Regions from separate parts of the Homo sapiens genome. Here regions 1 and 2 are each linked to region 3. The links are contacts of gene promoters, found by promoter capture Hi-C in human tissues and cell types (Jung and others, 2019). All regions are on one chromosome and are shown on one strand. Each heading gives the region's core, a stretch centred on a gene start or on the middle of the fragment in contact. The rest is flanking DNA. Distances are from core to core; before and after follow the strand shown. Region 1 overlaps CTIF (cap binding complex dependent translation initiation factor). Region 2 has its middle 38 kb from the start of CTIF-AS1. Region 3 holds the start of CTIF (cap binding complex dependent translation initiation factor).

Evidence for each region. Contacts are between HindIII fragments. The study calls those that stand out against the background at their distance.
Region 1: a contact is called between a fragment that was not itself captured here and the fragment with the promoter of CTIF in region 3, in 1 of the 25 tissues and cell types used here (dorsolateral prefrontal cortex).
Region 2: a fragment that was not itself captured here is called in contact with the fragment with the promoter of CTIF in region 3 in 2 of the 25 tissues and cell types used here (mesendoderm cells and thymus).

The regions. Positions count from the first base shown.
Region 1 is chr18:48,857,776-48,860,475 of GRCh38, reverse strand. It overlaps CTIF (cap binding complex dependent translation initiation factor), which reads right to left. Exons shown (of 12, transcript NM_014772.3): 12 at 1-1,132. The coding sequence ends at 917. Among named protein-coding and RNA genes, the nearest start is that of CTIF-AS1, 17 kb to the right of the region's middle. RefSeq lists an enhancer at 2,269-2,700. The HindIII fragment of the contact is 4,424 bases long and covers 1-2,700 here.
Region 2 is chr18:48,878,724-48,881,546 of GRCh38, reverse strand. No RefSeq gene overlaps it. Among named protein-coding and RNA genes, the nearest start is that of CTIF-AS1, 38 kb to the right of the region's middle. The HindIII fragment of the contact is 4,384 bases long and covers 1-2,823 here.
Region 3 is chr18:48,537,781-48,540,806 of GRCh38, reverse strand. It overlaps CTIF (cap binding complex dependent translation initiation factor), which reads right to left and starts at 1,776. Exons shown (of 12, transcript NM_014772.3): 1 at 1,495-1,776. RefSeq lists silencers at 211-300, 731-1,090, 1,591-1,670. The HindIII fragment of the contact is 11,515 bases long and covers 1-3,026 here.

The DNA of each region.
Region 1 (2,700 bases), core at 173-2,672, 320 kb before region 3:
AGGATTCCAGCGGGGACCCCCCGCCGGGGCAGAAGTTTCCAATTACCCTAATTGGCTACTGGCAAGCTGTCTGTGGCTCGAATCCTTCTTCTAGAGGGGAGCTGGGTTTGATCTCCCACTAATCCGGGGGTCCTCAACAGTGCTGACTGTGTGATCACATCACGGGCATTTTCATTGGCCAAAGAGACTTCAAAGCAACCGACTTTTGAAAAATAAAACACAATAAACAAAAGAGTGCAAGTGGAACTGCAAACTCCATCTCCCCCGCTGCGCCTGACCCCCTAGGCCTGAGGCTGTGGGGGCTGCAGTGAGGAGGACTTGGAGGTGGGAGGTGGAGCGTCAGCTCTGCCATGGCTGACAAAGGCCGTCAATTACGGGCGGCTGGTGGGGACCGTGCCTGCCTTTGTCCTCCCGGACATCTGCTACACGTCGCCTGCTGCCAGTTGGCGACTGCGGCTGACAGCATGCGGGAACAATGCGAGCCCGTCTCCGACCCACTTTTTCAGCCTTCCGAGGTCCTTTCTGACCCAAGCGGTGCCCCGGCGTGCGAGGCTGCCAAGGTCTCCGAGGAGTCACAGCGATGAGATCCCTCACACAAAGCTCCGTGGGGGATGGGTCTGATGGGGAGGGGAGAGGCGGGAGTGAGGAAGGGGAGGGCCAGGGCCACCAGGAAAAAGAAACATGCTTCCCTTATTGGTGTGAGCTTGCATGCTCGGGCTGGGGGGCTTGTGCGGGGGCACTCCTCTCAGGGATTTGCTCCCTTCCCCGTCTGGCTCCAGACTGGCCACCGACTCTGCCTGCCCTCCTCCCCATTTCTTTCTCCCGCCAGGGCCACCCCTGTCCTCCCGCCTGTCCATCTGGCCCTGTGCACCAGGGCCCCAGCTGCCCGTGGGCCGCCTGCCAGGCCCCCTGGCTGTCAGGCTGTCAGTTTCTGGATGGTTCTGTTGTAGTACTGCGTGATGGGGGGCGTCAGAGGGTTCCAGCTGTTAGCGTGGAGCTCGATGACCTCTAGGAGCAGCGACCGGGTCAGCATGGACTCCGAGGGGCACAGCATCTTGTCCCGTGCGCTGGCCAGGAGCTCTGTCATCATCTCAGGCAGCTGTTCCTCCAGCAGCCGGCCTGTACTCTGCAGCTGCAGACAGAGATGTGGGGTTAGGATGGCCTCGGGTCCCACAGTGGCCCACTGGCCACCCTGATTAGGTGGGCAGGGATAGGAAATAGCTGGGTTGTCTTAAGGACACACAGGCCCAGACCCCTGTGCCACAGCTGGAATGAGGACAGGGAGAGTGGAAGGTGGAGTAGCCAAGAGTGAGAGCTCACATTTACCAACCAATCTGCCAGCAGGATCCAGAGGGATCCGAATATTGCCTACTGCCCAGGGCTGAAAGAGCTGTCACCAGGAACATGCCTCTTGTCCCTTTTACCCAAGAGCCTCCCTCTTCCAGGAAGCCTTCCCTGACTACATCCGCACCCTCAAATGGCTCCATGATCTGTGCCCCTTGGTGATCAGGGGGCCCTGTGGTCATTTTCACTTGCTGGGGCGTCTCTCTGGCAATGAGCTTAGTCATTATTACATGTGTCCATTGGAACTTGAGAGCAGGGGTGATGCCTCCTGTTTCTCTCGCTCTCCTTTTCTCCTGATCCTGATCCCATCTCCCAGCCCCCAGAAGTGACCTCTGCTCATGCTTGTGACAGGAAGTGGGGGAGAGAAATACAAACTGGGGAAGAAGGCCAGCCAGAGGCCGTCAGGAGAGCCCTAGATAATCTTGAAAAGCCCACTGGGAAGGAGCCCCTATTCCTGGACCAGCACACCCCTGGCCAGTGCCCCCCAGGCCCTCTCTATAGAATCTCAGTCCCCGTCTCGGTCCCCAGCCTTGTCCCATTCATTTTTCTAGTCTCTGCCTTCTTCACAAAGCCTCCCTTGAACCCCTGAGCCCTTCCTGACCTCTCTCCCCTGACTCTTCAGGGATGTCTCTGTACTTACACTTATTCTATCTACTCTCTGAGAGCTATTCCTAACCAGACTGGAAGCTGCCTGAGGGCAAGGACCAGGCTTTCTCCTTCTCCCTAATTCCCCCCTAATCCCAAGCCCCCTGTAGGGTGCCCAGCTGGAGGCCAACAAACAAACTGAGTCCCACAGACCCAAGACTGCCATCTGGCTCCCAGTGCTTCTGGCCTCTGAGCTCCTCAGTGAGGCCTTTGCAGCCAGGCGGAAGCCACCTGAGTATGCTTATGACAGCTGCCAGGCCCAGGTCCTCGTCTGGAAGCCCCTCTCCTGCCTGCATCCCACTCTGAGTGACTCTGGACCATCTGCAGAGGGCAGAGATCTGCCCAGGGACTGGGCCAAAGCCAGGCGCTAAAGGGAGAGCCCAGAGGAAGAGTCTCCATTAGCAGGGGCCACAGCTTAGGGACAGGAGTGGCACCTCCCAAGAGGTGTGCTTTCGGGTGGGCTGTGCCAGCACTGCATTGCCAAGCATTAGCAAAGCAAAGGGAAATATTTGAGGGCAGAGGTAATCAGGAACTTCTTAAGTCATTTGTGTGGCATGCCTGAGCTGGGGCGCAGGGGGTCTTTGGGGGACAGGGAAGTAGGCAATGCCACTGGGAATCACTTCTCTCTCCCTTCAGTCAGGGGTGAGCTGCTCTCACCATCAGTGTTCACTCTGGCTTGGGGTGGATAATTCTGGATGCAGAAGTCCATGC
Region 2 (2,823 bases), core at 147-2,646, 340 kb before region 3:
GACCTGTTTTCCAGTTCACTAATCTTCTATTAGTGACATCTAATCTGCTGTTAAACCCATTCATTGCTTGTTAATTATGATGATGATTATTTTTTGTAGTATTTTGTATTTGCCTAGAACTTCCATTTGATAACCTTTAGGAGTTTCCAGTTCTCCTTAAATTATTTATCTCTCCAATTTTTTTGAACATATCAATCACAATTATTTTAAAGTCTGCTATTTTAAATAATAATATCTGGATCTCCTTCAGGTTTATTCCTATTAGCTGTGTTTTTTTTCCACCTCTTAGTTTCAGTCATATGATCTTATCTCCTGTCATGCCTGGTAAATGTTATTGACTTCCAGACATGGTATATGGAAGGATTGTAGAGATAATTTGAGGCTCTGAATAATCCAGAGAGGATTTACTCTTGACTCTGGAAGGGAGATAGAGTAGAGGCAGCGCACTTTAATCCCATGTGGGATTAAGTTTGTTTGAAGCTGCACTTCAACCTTTGTGAGGGCTGACCTATTTCTGATTTGTGCTTCAAGGGTCCTAACTGACAGTTTTTTTTTTTTCTAAACAAGCCATCTCTCCACTTGGAGATGCTTGAGTTCTCCCCTTTCCTCTTTCTCTAACTCCAGGAGGTTGCAAAAACCTCAGTCTCCACTTCCTGCTCACATTCTGAACTTCATGCTACTGCTTAGGGGAAAAGTAGGGCCAAATGTTAAGCTCATCTTTCTAGATTCAAATTTTAAAAATGTATTTTATCTCTTTTTTCGGTTGGTGGCAAAGTTGGTGTGATATATAAGCTAGTCTACTGTAGCCAGAAGTAGAAATTGGCACAGATCTTAAAACCCACCCCTGCTGAGAAGTCATTCCAGTCCCCTGCTTCAACTTGGCCATTCAAAGGGTCAGCTTTGGCCTCCTCCTACTCTGACCACTTGCTCCCCATTCATACAGGGCTTGGCTGCTGCCTAGTGATGTTCATGGCCTGGAGGCTGCCTCTAAAATGGCTACCCTTCCAGCCCCAGCATCCAGGCTGGTCAAGATGGTAGTGGCCTGGTTTTTGCCAAGGCTCTGCCATCACAGAGTGGCCAGGCTCACTTCTGTCTGCTGACCAGCCTCACTCACACGCCATGCCTTCTGTAGCTCCCTCTTGTGCAGGCTCCACGCTCAGTGCTTAACATAAGTGGTCTCATTTCATCCTCATAGAAAGACTAGCAAGTAACTATAGTTATCTTCATTTTATAGATGAGGAAACTGAAGCCCTAGGGGTTTAGTCATAATCCCTGGCCACTTCATAGAATTACATATGTACTTAGGTGTTCAATTAATTTTCTCGTTCACCCTAGACTATAAGCAACATGAAGGCAGAAAATGTGTCTATACATCTATTTTATATCCTCATCATATGGCCATGCCTGGCACAAAGTCTGTAGGCAGTAACAACCACTGAAGCCAGGTGTGGTAGTGCAGCCTGTAATCCCAGCCACTCAGGAGGCTAAGCCGGGAGGATGGCTGAAGCCCAGGAGTTCGAGGCTGTAGTGTGCTGTGGTCACATCTGTGAATAGCCACTGCACTCCAGCCTGGGCAACATCGTGAGATTCCCATCCCAGAAAAACAAAACACAAAAACAAAAACAACCCAACCAAAATCAAAACCAAAAAGAAGCATTGAGTGAATAAATAAAGCTTCAAGTCCCAAAGTTGTTTGTGGTGGAGGCCAGACTCCAGGGAGTCCTGCCTGCTCACCACTCACATCACAGCTGGTGGGGAACACGTTCATTCACCAGAATGTTCCCAGTATCTTCTATGTGTTGAGATTCTAGTGGAGTTTCCTGCTGCCAGGGCTATAATTTTGGCAATTTCAGCGCTTTGGTGTTGGGGGTTCCATTGCCCTTAACCAAGGTCTGAGGACCCATATGGAACTGAGGAATGGACTCAAAAGCTTCTGACATTACAGTAAAAATTTGTAGAGAATTTTTCTAGAGAAAGGATCTATTCAATTTCTCAGACTCTCAGAGAGGTCTGGGACCTCCCCAAAAGGTCAAGAATCTTGGGCATAGGGTTTGGTTGCCTTGTCGGTCTCCCAACATTACCTCGCCTGGCCAGGGAGGGGCTTCCTGAAGCCACCCACAGCTTGTTGGGGGCCGACTGGAGAAACCAGCCAGTGTGTGAAGGGGAAGCCTTTTCCAGCCTGAGCAGGGTACCCAGAGCCCTCCAGCCAGCATTCTCGAAAATCCCTCAAGGTTAGGGGGTGGGTGTCACTCACCGAAGGACCATGAATAATGGAGATCTGGCCCTCTCAGGGCAGCCGCTGACAGGAAAGCCGCCCCACCGGCTCGGCGGCATATTTGTGTGGCTTCTGGTTCTGAGGCAACCGCCAGGTGAGGCAGGGGTGGCGGGGGTGGGTGTGTGGGAATTCCCAGGCCCCGGCTCAGCACTTTGAAGCGAAGACCCTGAGTCCATGTTGGAGGGGGCAGGAAGGCGCCACCAGTCCCTCGAAAGGAGACAGGAGGCTGCCGGGGCAACTTCTCCCTGCTCAGGCTGCCCTGGGTGCCCCCGGCCTGAGGATGAGGAGATTCTTGTTTAGTTTCGGAATCAGCAAGTCCACCTACAAGAACATCCTCTCAGAATCAGAAAGGTCTCTCCGTGTACATATTCTACCCCACACACAAAATCCTTACAATTTTTTTTTTCTTAGACGCACACTCTCAAAAACACGAGCACTCTCTTGTCTCACACACCAAATTCCCTGTCGTGTGCACATTTGTTTTCTCTTTCTCTCACACACAGGCTCACACCCGTTCATGACCAGGTTCGGGGGTGCTCCTGCAGACC
Region 3 (3,026 bases), core at 527-3,026:
CGGGACAGGTCGCGCGGAGGATCGGGGCCCACGCTTGTCCCCACTACGCCGCGGTCTGCGGTCCCCGCCCCCCACACACACCGGAGCCGTGTGTACACACAAACAGCCGGGCGGGGGAGGCGACGCCTCACTCCTCGGGGTGGAGACGCACGCGGCGCCGCCAGTCAGCCCTCCCCTCTACACGCCGCACACCCCGCGGTGCTCACACCCCCCAGCCCCAACCCTGAAAACTCCGCGGAACCAAACAGAGCCAACGCCGCCCAGATAACGGGCTCGGACCACCCCCCTCCCGATTGTCTTTTACCATCAATAGAGAAACACTCGGCTCAGGCGCGCGGTGTCCCGGACGCCCCCTCCGGCCACATCCAGGCACCGGCACGCGGCCCTCCGAGGCCCCAGACCTTCGCCGCAGCCCAAGCCATCGCCCCCCCGCCCGCCCTCCCCCATGACCGGCGCCCGGGACAGTTACCTGCTCGTCGTCCTGATGAACCCGAGCCGGAGCCCACCCCACGGCCTCTCGGGTCACTCGCCACCCAGAGGTGGCTTTTCAGAGCCTGTCAAGTGAACCCCTCTCCGCCGGGCGTATCTATTCCCCAGGCCCGATTGCACCGCAGCGACAGGAATAATAAAAAAAGCCAACAGAACCACAACCGTTGGGAATAACCAAAGGGGAGACCGCAACGGGTCCACCGATTTGGTTTCTTCCTCTGCTCCCATCCCCCGCTCCCCCCGCGGCCCGCGGGCTCACCGGGGACGCAGGGAGGGGGCTGCGCCCTGTCTAGACGACAGCCATCCACAGACATCCCCGAGCCCGCGGGGACGGGCGCGCACACTCACACACGCCCGCTGCCACAGACACAATCAGTCACCGGGGAAGGGAGGGGCGGCGTGGCGACACACTCTCGGGGTCCCTCCCGCAGCCCCGAGTGCCGCAGCCCCCGGCCCCCAAACGCCACCCCGAGACGGGCTCCCTACCTCGGCGGAGCGCGGTCTGAACAGCTGCAAGTTTGGCTGATACTAAACCAACTGCTCGATGCAGCAAATGCGGGCTTCAAAACAAAAGGGAGAGGAATCGCGCTCGCTCTTTTCCTCCTCCCAGGTCGGAACCCGGCACATGACAGCGGCTACACCGCGCAGCTCCAAAGCGAGCCGGGCTCCAGCCGTGCGTCCCCCAAGAGCCCCCCTTGGCGCCGGAGCTCCAGGGCCACGACACCCCGCGGGGCGGGGAACCCGGCAGGGAATGGGACAAACCCAGGGAGGGGGCGACACTGTGGAGTGCAGTTCCCCACCGAGGGGGAGGAGGGGATGGTAGATGGGTGCGGACACCCCGCTGGCCCAGGAGCAGGGATGGGGGGAAGGGGGCTGATTGTTTGGGGCGGTTTTCCCGGATTTATCTATAAGCACGCCCACGTCACGCAGCCCTCCTCCCGGGTCCCCGAATCGATCAGCAAGCTGAGATGACTATAAGAGGAGGACGGGCGAGGAGATGCTCACCTCGGGGTTCCTCTGGCCGCCGCGCCAAGCCCGAGTCGGGGGTGGGGGAAGGGGGCAGGGAAGGGGAAGGGAGGGACGAGGCTCCGGAGAGCCGACTCCTGCCTCGAGTTCGGAGCGTCCCAGCTGCGGAGGGGATCGGGCGCCCCAGCGCACAGACCCAGCAGAGAGGGGAGGGAGGGAGGGAAGGGAAACAGGGAGGGAGGGGCGGGTAGGGGGGAGGGAGTAGAGGAAGGAAAAAAAATGATCCCTGATCTGACACAGGGAAAGAGAATGTAGGAGAGTGACGTTCAGGCCCCGCCCTCCCCTCCGGCCACGTGCAAAGACTTGAAAGGAAAGAGGGCGGCTGGAGGCCTGCTGGGTAATGTAGTTCGCCTTTCTTTTCCAGGATGGCGGGCCCTGGAGAGCAGGGTGGCCCCAGGACGCTCGGGATGTCGCCTTAGCTGCCAAGACAGCCCAGTCTAGCGACGCCAAAACCCGCCGCCCAGCGACCCCACGGCGCTGGCGCAGCCCTGGGTGGGGGCCTCTGCGGTGGGAGAACTGGGGGCTTAGGCGCAGTCCAGGCTTACAGGGAAACGTTGGTTTTAGAGTCCGAAAGGCTTTAAGGATGAGAACGTCCGTGCCGAAAGTGCAAAGTCTGTGCTAATGGCAGATGAAAAGGAGCTTTGTGTATGCACTGGGGGGCCCAAGTGGCGTGATTAATGCTGCACTAAATGCCACCGTCGGTTATTGAGATGCATATGTTATAATTAACATTTGAGCATCTCTGTGTCGGGGGCTGGCTGTTGTAATTAGATACGCACTTTGCAACCAATTAATTTTCCTTCGGCCAAGCTAAGGGCTGGGACGGGGTGGTTGGGAGAATTCAACGTAGTGGATAATTCAGTAATGACTTAACCAGATCACCAATGTTTTGGTTAAAACTGAGCTTGGCACAGAGAGGCCTTCAGGAGAAATACTGAATAAAATACTGTATGCCCCAACAGGGAAGGGGGCTAGAAATTCATTAGAGGAACTGTGTGATGCAGTATAAACTGCTGTAGAAACCCATTTATTCATTAGTTTATATTCACATTTAGTGAGCACTTTCCACAGACCAGGTGTGTCTAGGAATGCCAAAACAGGTAAGACTCACAGTCTCTGCGCTCAAGGAGCTCAGTCCAGTATTAGGGACTACAGTCAATGAAAGTATTATACAAGGGATAAGTCAGCGCTTAACACAAAGTGCTGTGAAATTCCCCCCACCACACAACCTGGAGCAGCCAACTGGATGGAGGGTGGGTGGGGTCTGGGAGAGGGTCAGGAAGACTTCCTGGAGGAAGTGATACTTGAGCAAAGAATTTCTAAGTTTTTTTTTCTTTTTTTTTTTTTTTGGAGACTGAGTCTCTCTTTGTTGCCCTGGCTGGAGTGCAGTGGCGTGATCTTGGCTCACTGCAAGCTCTGCCTCCCTGGTTCATGCCATTCTCCTGCCTCAGCCTCCCAAGTAGCTGGGACTTCAGGCGCCCGCCACCACACCTGGCCAATTTTTTTTTTTT